Linked DNA regions of Homo sapiens: regions 2 and 3 are each linked to region 1. The links are contacts of gene promoters, found by promoter capture Hi-C in blood cells and fetal thymus (Javierre and others, 2016). All regions are on one chromosome and are shown on one strand. Each heading gives the region's core, a stretch centred on a gene start or on the middle of the fragment in contact. The rest is flanking DNA. Distances are from core to core; before and after follow the strand shown.

The links. Contacts are between HindIII fragments. The CHiCAGO score rates a contact against its expected background, and 5 or more counts as called.
Region 2: a contact is called between a fragment that was not itself captured here and the fragment with the promoter of PSMB4 in region 1, in 3 of 17 cell types (M1 macrophages, M2 macrophages and M0 macrophages). The highest score is 7.8, in M1 macrophages.
Region 3: a fragment that was not itself captured here is called in contact with the fragment with the promoter of PSMB4 in region 1 in 1 of 17 cell types (M2 macrophages); the score reaches 5.2 in M2 macrophages.

Annotation. Positions count from the first base shown.
Region 1 is chr1:151,397,797-151,401,316 of GRCh38, forward strand. PSMB4 (proteasome 20S subunit beta 4) reads left to right here and starts at 1,777. Exons shown (of 7, transcript NM_002796.3): 1 at 1,777-1,931; 2 at 2,185-2,391; 3 at 2,646-2,792; 4 at 2,968-3,049; 5 at 3,443-3,520. The coding sequence starts at 1,792. RefSeq lists enhancers at 1,134-1,856, 1,457-1,506, 1,857-2,578 and a silencer at 2,347-2,504. The HindIII fragment of the contact is 7,561 bases long and covers 1-3,520 here.
Region 2 is chr1:151,780,231-151,783,750 of GRCh38, forward strand. TDRKH (tudor and KH domain containing) reads right to left here. Exons shown (of 13, transcript NM_001083965.2): 2 at 2,669-2,819; 3 at 1,251-1,357. The coding sequence starts at 2,792. Among named protein-coding and RNA genes, the nearest start is that of TDRKH, 8.5 kb to the right of the region's middle. The HindIII fragment of the contact is 4,445 bases long and covers 1-3,520 here.
Region 3 is chr1:151,747,084-151,750,603 of GRCh38, forward strand. It overlaps the pseudogene RNU6-662P. Among named protein-coding and RNA genes, the nearest start is that of MRPL9, 15 kb to the right of the region's middle. The HindIII fragment of the contact is 7,839 bases long and covers 1-3,520 here.

The sequences.
Region 1 (3,520 bases), core at 527-3,026:
ATCATGCCACTGCACTCCAGCCTGGGTGACAGAGCCAGACCTTGTCTCAAAAAACAAACAAACAAAAGACACCTAAGGACAGTGTTGAGGATGGTATCCTCACCAGTCTCTGTGGGAGGATGGAATCCTAACTTCCATAAATGCCAGCTAGCAGACATCATTGACCTAAGCACATTTACATTGACTAATTCTGTAAATGTTCACTTCCCTGACTCTACTGACCCTCTGTCTCACTGTCCCCTAACCTCATTTTCCCTATAAAATACCCATTACTTGCATACAAATTGCAGTTGAGTTCAGTTCATGCTGAACTGTTTTTCCTTATTGTAGTAGTTATTACTGATTGAAATCTGTCCTTTCCACTTTAGTGTCCGGCTTTGTTTATCTTTGACAAAATTCACCAGTTTGATTCAAGACAGTTTCCAGCCCCTGCTATGGAGTTACACTGAGAAGGAAACCCCTGGAATTTAGTTTCACCCCTACACTTCCAATGGAATTTTTCTGTTTCTTTAGAGGTGGGCAAGGGCCCTTGACAATAAGGAAACTTTCAGACTTGTCTAAGGTCCCACAGAGAGTGCTTGATCCACCTGAGCTATCACACCCCACAGGGTATACACAAGTGTATTCTTTTTTTTTTTTTTTTTTTTTTTTTTTTTGTGACAGGGTCTCGCTCTGTTGCCCAGGCTGGAGTGCAGTGGCGCCACCTTGGCTCACTGCAACCTCCCTCGGGTTCAGGCGATTCTCCCACCTCACCCTCCCAAGTAGCTGGAATTACAGGCCTGGCTAATTTTTTGTTTTGTTTTGTTTTGTAGAGGTGAGGTCTCACCATGTTGCCAAGGCTGGTCTTGAATTCCTGGGTTCAAGTGATCCTCCCGTCTTGGCCTCCCAAAGTTCTGGGATTACAGGCATGAGCCACCGCACCCGGCCCTGATTCCTTTTTTTATTCTAGCTTCAAGATTCAGTTCTACCGTTATCGGCTGTGTGACTGGGTAAATCACTACACCGCAAGCCTCGGTTTCCTATTTACCAAATGGGTCGAATAATGCCTGCCACATGGGGCTGCTCTGAGGAGTACAGATGTAAGAGATCCTGTGTTCACTGATATTTTCATGTGGGCTTTTTGATAATGATACAAAAGGAACATGAGAACTGTGACTTCTAGGCCGGGCGAGGCGGCTTACTCCTGTAATCCCAGCACTTTGGGAGTCCGAGGCAGGCGGATCACCTGAGATCCGGAGTTCGAGACCAGCCTGGCCAACATGGTGAAACCCCATCTCTAGCAAAAATACAAAAAATTAGCCAGGCGTGGTGGCAGGCGCCTGTAATCCCAGCTACTCGGGAGGCTAAGGCACGAGAATCGCTTGAATCTGGGAGGCGGAGGTTGCAGTGAGCCGAGATCGCGCCACTGCATTCCAGCCTGGGGGCCAGAGCGAGACTCCGTCTCAAAAAAATAAAAAATAAAATAAAAAATTGTGACGTCTCACTCAGGATCAGCGTCTTTAAGTGGCCACCTCCCCACCCCACCTTCATGCCTCCCTCCTCCTTGAATCGTGTGTTAGAACGCTGTGATCTGGTCCAAACTCCACGGAGATGCGATGCGATGCGAAGCGATGTTGGGCAATTTCAACTCCCTGTCTCGGTCGCCACCTAGGATTACTGCATGTTCAGCTACGACCTCATCAACATGGCTGCTGGAAGTCGTCTACAGGAAAAAGAAAGAAATGACACTGAAGGATCACTTCCGCTTCCGTTGGCGCAAGCGCTTTCATTTTTTCTGCTACCGTGACTAAGATGGAAGCGTTTTTGGGGTCGCGGTCCGGACTTTGGGCGGGGGGTCCGGCCCCAGGACAGTTTTACCGCATTCCGTCCACTCCCGATTCCTTCATGGATCCGGCGTCTGCACTTTACAGAGGTCCAATCACGCGGACCCAGTAAGTTCTCGGCGCTTTCGTTTGCGTAGCGGGAGGGACCGTGGGGCCTGGTGCTGCCGGCTGGTTTTGAGAGCCCGGGAAGGTGAGGCGGGGACCCCGGGGGCGCGCGAACGGCAGGGGAGCTCAGGGCGCGGAGTCCTGGAGAATGCAGAATAATTGGAAGGAATTATAGAAAATCAGAAGCGCAGCTCAGTGCGCGGAAAGAGGGCGCAGTCCATCCCCCCTCTCAGCTCCCACCGTTCTCACTCTTTAGGAACCCCATGGTGACCGGGACCTCAGTCCTCGGCGTTAAGTTCGAGGGCGGAGTGGTGATTGCCGCAGACATGCTGGGATCCTACGGCTCCTTGGCTCGTTTCCGCAACATCTCTCGCATTATGCGAGTCAACAACAGTACCATGCTGGGTGCCTCTGGCGACTACGCTGATTTCCAGTATTTGAAGCAAGTTCTCGGCCAGATGGTGTAAGTCATCCAGAGAACAGGAGAGTGGTTCCCAAGTAGAGAGGGGAGTCCCCTGTTTTTTATTCCCTTCGATGGGATGGGGGGACTTGTTGCAGCGGGGGACTGGAAGAGTTGTTGGAGGTGGGCGATCTGTGTTTGCAATAAAGTTTTTGGCATTAGGTGTAAAATGGGGGAAGGTGTGGTAACTTCTTTTGGGGATGGGTGGAGACCCCGACTTAATTCTCTCCCTTTTCTCACAACCAATTCCTTTTAAGGATTGATGAGGAGCTTCTGGGAGATGGACACAGCTATAGTCCTAGAGCTATTCATTCATGGCTGACCAGGGCCATGTACAGCCGGCGCTCGAAGATGAACCCTTTGTGGAACACCATGGTCATCGGAGGCTATGCTGATGGAGAGAGGTTCATATGAATACAAATAACTTATTTCCTTTACCACCCAACCTAGTACCTGTGTAGTATCTCTTCTGTCTCTTCTCCCCAAGTGAATCCCACTTTAACTCAGACCCCATGGTCCCCTTCTTCAGCTAAGATGAATCTAAGGTGAAATGAGTTTTGACCCATTGTGTCCTGTTAGCTTCCTCGGTTATGTGGACATGCTTGGTGTAGCCTATGAAGCCCCTTCGCTGGCCACTGGTTATGGTGCATACTTGGCTCAGGTAAGTAGTAAGTCTAGAGGTGGGGGAAAGGGAAGACAAAAGGAAATGGATTAGTGGTTGTCTGCTTTTCTCCTGAAATTCTGATATGAGGGATGGGCTGGGATCGCTATTACTGGGCAGATGGTTTTCTTTGTAGTCTGGGGGCTGTAGGTGTTGACACTGATTCCAGTGACAAGATGACATGACTGGGAGTCAGTAGACATGCAAAGAGAGGACACCCTAGAACTTCTTCCTGAAGTGGCTCTTAGCTTATTTTCTAAGCAGAGTTCATTCTGGTGAGGCAAGAAGTAGAATGTCATCTTTCACTCTAATGCTTTTTATACCATAGATTTGAGACAACTAGCCTGTTATTCAGCCCAATATCCCCCCATGGTTTTCCCCCAATCTCCCTAGCCTCTGCTGCGAGAAGTTCTGGAGAAGCAGCCAGTGCTAAGCCAGACCGAGGCCCGCGACTTAGTAGAACGCTGCATG
Region 2 (3,520 bases), core at 419-2,918, 380 kb after region 1:
ATAGAATTAGCCAAAGGAATTAGCTAATACTATCTATACAACCAGTCCTCAATTACTTTATATACAACCTCAGTTACTATCTATACAACCAGTCCTCACTTTATGGAAGGAGATTAGTAACAAATGTAACCCCAAATAGCAGTAAATTCAAACCCATTTATCTTTGTGTTTAGAATCCTTTCCCCTTACTAATTTTATTTGGATTAGAGAATCAAATATTTTGTTTTCTTGACATTCCAGCTGAACAATGGAAGATGGTAAGAAGAACCAGGTAGCCATTCAATATTTACTGTCAATTAATGAGAGTTCATTAATTCCATAGTAGAAAAGGATAATTTGACCAGGCGCGGTGGCTCACGCCTCTAATCCCAGCACTTTGGGAAGCCAAGGCGGCTGGATCACGAGGTCAGGAGATCGAGACCATCCTGGCTAACATGGTGAAACCCTGTCTCTACAAAAAATACAAAAAATTAGCTGGGAGTGGTGGCGGGCACCTGTAGTCCCAGCTACTTGGGAGGCTGAGGCAGGAGAATGATGTGAACATGGGAGGCGGAGCTTGCAGTGAGCCAAGATCATGCCACTGCATTCCAGCCTGGGTGACAGAGCCAGACTCTGTCTCAAAAAAAAAAAAAAAAAGGATAATTCAAGTTATACCATGCTGACAATCACCCAGTCAAAAACCCGTATTTCAAGCTAAGTCATCCTTTCTCTAGGGAGAAGTACTCTTCTCTAGAAGGGAAGTAGCTAAAAAGTTTAGTTAGCTAAAAAGTTCCTCTATTTGTTCTTTTAAAAATATACATAGTGGTTGGGCCCAGTGGCTCACACCTGTAATCCCAGCACTCTGGGAGGCCGAGGCAGGCGGATCACCTGAGGTCAGGAGTTCGAGATCAGCCTGGCCAACATGACGAAACCTCGTCTCCACTAAAAATACCAAAAATTCGCTGGGCGTGGTGGCGGGTGCCTGTAATCCCAGCTACTCGGGAGGCTGAGGCAGGAGAATCACTTGAACCCAGGAGGCGGATGTTGCAGTGAGCCGAGATCGTGCCATTGCACTCCAGCCTGGACAACAAGAGCGAAACTCCATCTCAAAAAAAAAAAATATATATATATATATTTTATATATACACACACACATACACACACACACAGAGCATGTGAATGTTTTGTGATATGGGGTCAGTGGAAGGAAACAAGAAATCAATAAACAGAATCAATCCTTGGGAAAGCAGACTGCCTACTCACACACTTACCTGTTTAATATTGGCTCCTTGCCGGCCAATGATGAGTTTCACAGCCTCCTGGGGAACCCGCATCTCTATCTCAATGTCATCTTCCCCAACAAATGTCAGCCGCTCTTCTGCACAGATCATTGTTCATCAGATCAGACTTAGATAACACCCAAAGCTAGTATAACTACCAGTCCTCCCCAGAATCTGGCTGTCAAAGAGACACTGATCCAAGAGATAAAGTGAGGATCTCAACCATAACAACAAGGAAAAGTGGCATCTGAATGGGAATTAGAAGGTCCCAAAGGATCAGAGATGGGCATTTTCTCTGGGACACTGTTTCAGATGCTAAAATGGGAAAAGCAGATTCTGCAATAAACAGGTGCTGGGGTTTGGGCAAACTACTTCTCCCAAGACATGACTACTGGAGAAGAATGAAGGCCAAAAGTTACCTGAGGGGTCCATTAGGCTCAGAACTTCTCCTGACTGATAGGTACATAAGTCATTTCTCTAGGTCCTATTCTCTAGATCCAGCCTTTGAGGTAAGTGCCTTCTACTAACAACTAATTAGAGAAAAGGAATATATAAAAAAGATGAGTATAGAAATTAAAAAAGAACTCTTTGCTGTGTTGATGTTGCTGAAGAAAGCACATCAATGGAGTTATAAAATGAGTTCATTTCATAGACTAGCTTACTTTGCTATGTAAGAACATAGCAAAGACTAGGCCAGGTGCAGTGGCTCATGCCTGTAATCTCAGCACTTTGGGAGGCCGAGGCAGGTGGATCACTTGAGGTCAGCCACCCTGGTGGTGAAACCCCGTCTCTACTAAAAATACAAACATTAGCCAGGAGTGGTGGCACACGCCTGTAATCCCAGCTACTAGGGTGGCTGAGGCAGGAGAACTGCTTGAACTCGGGAGGCAGAGGTTGCAGTGAGCCGAGATTGCTCCACTGCACTCCAGTGTGGGCGACAGAGTGAGACTCTGTCTCAAAGAAAAAAAAAAGACTAAATAATTTTAGTCAAAGATTCCTCACAGAAAGTCAATTAAAATACCTGGGTCAGGCATGGAGGCACATGCCTGTAATCCTAGCACTTTGGGAGGCCGAGGCAGGTGGGTTGCTTGAGCTCAGGAGTTCAAGACCAGCCTGGGCAACATGGGAAAACCCCATCTCTACAAAAAATACAGGCCTGTGGTCCCAGCTACTTGGAGGCTGAGGTGGGAGGATTGCTTGAGCCCAGGAGGTCGACACTACAGTGAGCCAAGATTGTGCCACTGTACGCCAGGCTAGGTGACAGAGTGAGACCCTGTCTCAAAAAAACCCCACAAAAAACCCCAAAACAAAACACACACAATACCTGGCAAGGAAAGAGTTTTTTTCAATTTAACAAGGCAGGAGCATGTCTGAACATTTTCACACACACAGTCATAGGGTTCACGTACCTCTGCTTTCCCTATACCTGCGGTATAGGATATAGGCAACTGTTGCACTGGCTGGGATCCCAAGGCCCAGGGCTATTTTCTGAATGGTGGACAGGCTTGTCCAAGAAGTCCGTTCAGTAGACATTTTCTGCTGTACTCTTTGACTTATATCCTGAAACAAGCAAAGCAGGGAAAAGAGGGAGGTTTCATCCAATCCTTTTATGAATAGCAGAGAGGCATGGGAGCACATTATTACTGAAAAGACTACTACTGCCTACCTTCCAATTTCAAGAGCTTCAGCAATTTCAAAATTTATTTCATATAAAAAGGGCTCAGGGTATTTTTTAAAAGTTAGCTAAGGTACACATAGAATTAAATAGAAGCATACTTCACTTTCCCCACCCAAGTCAGTTTTAAAAGACAAAAAAAATTAAATGAATCAAATATTTGAAATATATATACTTAGATTTCATATTAAATTATTTAAAATTACTTATCTAAGTCCTTTTATGCCTCCAGGGCTTTCCAGAAGCTGCTGCCTCTGCAAGAAATGCCATTCCAGGCTTAGTAAAGGCCTTACTATTTATCTTTGTTGGAAGTACAGTCTTCATTTACTGTCTCTACTTTTGGTTTCTATTTATTTACTCCTTAACGAACAGTGAAATGGGGTTCTTCCCTGCTCCATCGCCAAAACTGTAACTTCCCAGATAATCAACCTACAGGTCATGCATGGAGCCTTATCTCACCCATCTCTCTGCGGTAGCAGGAAGGTGGCCACTCCCTCCACAAAACTCTTTCCTTGGTTTCTGTGCCCTCTTTCTCTTGGTTTCCTCTTATTTCCCTGGAGGGTCCTTCCAAGTTTGGGCTTCTCAT
Region 3 (3,520 bases), core at 318-2,817, 350 kb after region 1:
ATCTGCCTGCATTGGCCTCCCAAAGTGCTGGGATTACAGGTGTGAGCCACCACTTGTGGCTTTTTTTTTTTTTTTTGACAGGGTCTCGCTCTGTCACCCAGAGTGAAGTCCAGTGGCACAATCTCGGGTCACTGCAATCTCCGCTTCCAAGGTTTAAGTGATTCTCCTGCCTCAGCCTCCTGAGTAGCTTGGGTTACAGGTGCCTGCCACCAAGCCCAGCTAATTTGGTTAATGTCTGCATGATATAACTTTCCCCATCCTTTTACTTTCAGCCTGCCCATATCATTATATTTAAAGTAAGTTTCCTGTAGATAGTACATAGTTTGGGTCATGCTTTTTAATTCATTCTACTAATCTTTATGTGGTTATTGGTATGTTAGGGCTTAAGTCTGCCATTTTTTGTTTTGTTTTTTTTTTTCCCAATTTTTGTTTCTTTGTTTTCTTTTGCCTACCTCCTAAAGATTACTTGAACATTTTTTAGAATTCTATTTTGATTTATCTATGGCATTTAAAAAATATATGGAGTGCTTCACAAATTTGCATGTTATCCTTACACAAAGGCCATGCTAATCTCTGTATCATTCCAATTTTAATGTATGTATTGCTGAAGTGAGCACTTTCTACAGTGTTTTTGAGTATATTCGTATAGCTTTCTTATTGGTTGTTCCAGGTATTATATTATATATACACATAACTTATTATAGCCTATGCTGTCATTATTTTACCAGTATGAGTGAAGTATGGAAACCCTCTCTTTGTCCCTTTTCCCTCTCTAATTTATAATTTCTAAAAACATTCCCTCTACATACCTTTAGAATAAAATCAGAAAGTGTTGTTATTTTTGCTTCAACTGTCAAACATAGTTTAGAAAATTCAATAGAAGAAATGTCTATTGATTTTCCGATATTTTTTGCTAACTGTGTCTTTTCTTCCTAATGTTCCAAGATTTCTTTTTTCATTGTTTCCTTTCCATTTAGAGAATCTCTTTTAGCCACTTTTAGAGTAGGTCTACTGGTGACAAACTCTTTTTGCTTTCCTAAGAAAACTTCTGATAATGTCTTAGTTTCCTCTTCATTCCTGGAGGATTTTTCTTTCTGTGTATAGAATTCTATTTCTTTCTGGGTATAGAATTCTGAGTTGACTGCTATTTTCCTTCAGCCCTTGAAAAATATTGTACCAATTCCTTCTGGCCTCCATGATTTCTGATGAGAAATCCATTGTCACTGAATTGTTTGTTTCCTTATAGTGACATTTTCAAGAGTTTTTTTTCTTTGTCTGATTTCAGAAGTTTAATTTTAACGTGTCTTGGCACAGATTATTTGGGTTTATCTTGGTTGAGGTTTCCTCAGCATTTTTTCTTTTTTTTTCTTTTTTGAGACAGAGACTCACTCTGTTGCCCAGGCTGGAGTGCAGTGGTGTGATTACAGCTCACTGCAGCCTTGACCTCCTGGGCTTGAGTGATCCTCTCACAGCTGGGACCACAGGTGCATGCCAACATACCTGGCTAATATTTTGTGTGTGTGGTTTTTTTTTGTTGTTTTTGTTTTTGTTTTTTTGGTTTGGTTTTTTTTAGAGATGGGGTTTTACCATATTTCCCGGTCTGGTCTTGAACTCCTGGCCTCAAGCAGTCTGCCTTCCTCTGTCTCCCAAAGTGCTGAGATTACAGGCGTGAACCACTGTACCCGGCCTTCCTCATCTTTTTGAATCACTATGTTTATGAATCACTATGTTTTGTCTCTTGACAAACTTGGGAAGTTCTCAGTCATTATTTCTTGGTGTACTTTTTCAGCCCTGCCTTCTTTTTTTCTTCTTCTGGGACTCCAGTGACAGGAATGTTAGATCTCTTGTTACCATCTCTCAGGTCCCTGGGGCTCTATTCATTTTCTCACTCTATTTTCTCCGTTGTTCAGACTGAGTAGTTTCTATTGTTCTACCTTATGGTATGCTGATTCTTCCCTTTCTTCTCTTTATTCTGGCATTGAGCCTATCCACTGAGCTTTTCTATTTGTTTATTGTATTTTATAGTTTTAAAATTTCTATTTGGTTCTTCCTTATACTTTCTATTTCTTTGCTGAAGTTGTATAGTTTTTCACTTTTTTCAAGTGTGTTCATAACTGCTTCTTGAAGCATTTCTATCATAGCTGCTTTAAAATCTTTGTCAGATATTCTAATATAGCTGCCATCTCAGTGTTGACCTCTATTGTCTTTTTTCATTCAGTTTGAGATCTGGACATTTTTGTATTATGTTATAAGACTTTGGATCTTAATTTAAAACTTTTGTTTTAACTAACTTTGTCTGTCACTGCATTGGCATGAGAGGGGGTGTCATTTCATTGCTGCCAGGTGAAGGTAGAAGTTCAGATTTCCCACTGTACCTCTGTTGACACTCAAGCGGGACAGGTCTCCTCCTTACTGCTGGATAGGGCTGCTTGTTCCAGCCCCACATGGTGTCTACTGATACTGTGGTAGAGGTGGCCTCATTACCTCTGGGTGATGGTTAAAGTCCTGACTCTCTACTAGGCCTCCTCTGATACCAACTGAGCAGAAAAGCAGAGGGGTACCTCATTTCTGCCAGATGGATATCCAGGTTCCCCACTGACACCACGGTCTTTATTGCCATCATGCACACAGAGAGGAGGGCTCATTACTGGCTGGCTGGGACAAAAGTCCCAGTTCCCTACTTGGCCTTGTGTGACACCACTCTAGTAAGGGTATTGGGGTGGCCTGTTACAATCTTGAGAGAGTGGAAGTCTAGGTTTCCCACTTAGTTTTGGCATGGGTTGGGGTAGGGCCACGGTAATAGAGTTCTCCAGAGAAATAGAACCAATGGAATATATGTATAAATTGGCTCATGTGATTATGGAGGCTGAGAAACCCAATGATCTGCCATCTGCAAACTAGAGCCCCAGGAAAGTCCGTGGTGTAATGCCAGTCTGAGTCTGAAAGCCTGAGAACCAAGGGAGCCAGTGGTATAAATTCCAGTCCAAGAGCAAGAGAAGATTGATGTCCCAGCTCAAGTAGGCAGGTAGGAAGCAAAACAGGGACATTTGTCCTCCCTTTGCCTTTCTGTTCTATTCAGGCCCTCAACAGATTGGATGATGTCCACTCACACCGGGGAGAGTAATCTGCTTTACTGAGTCCATGGATTCAAAAGCTAATCTCATCCAGAAACACCTCACAGACCACCCAGAATAAAGTTTAATCTAGGCACCCTGTAGCATGGCTAAAAGTTCCTGTCTTGCAGACTGCCCCTTGCCTTTGGCTAGCAGAAACAGGCTTTTGTTGGAGCTTTTCTTTTTCTTTTTGGTCTGTGCCCATTGACATTTCCTGGTTGCTGGTTTCTTCAGCTCCAAGTGTGGAATAAATGAAGCAAAAGGAAAACTCGGAGAACTCACCACTGTGGTGTTTCTTGGGTCTTGAGGTTTCTATCCAGTCTGCTTTCTTTTCTCCACCTTTCAAAGTCTTCTTACGTTTAATAAATAATTTCCAGGGTTTATGGTTGTTCTAGGAGTGGTCAAAG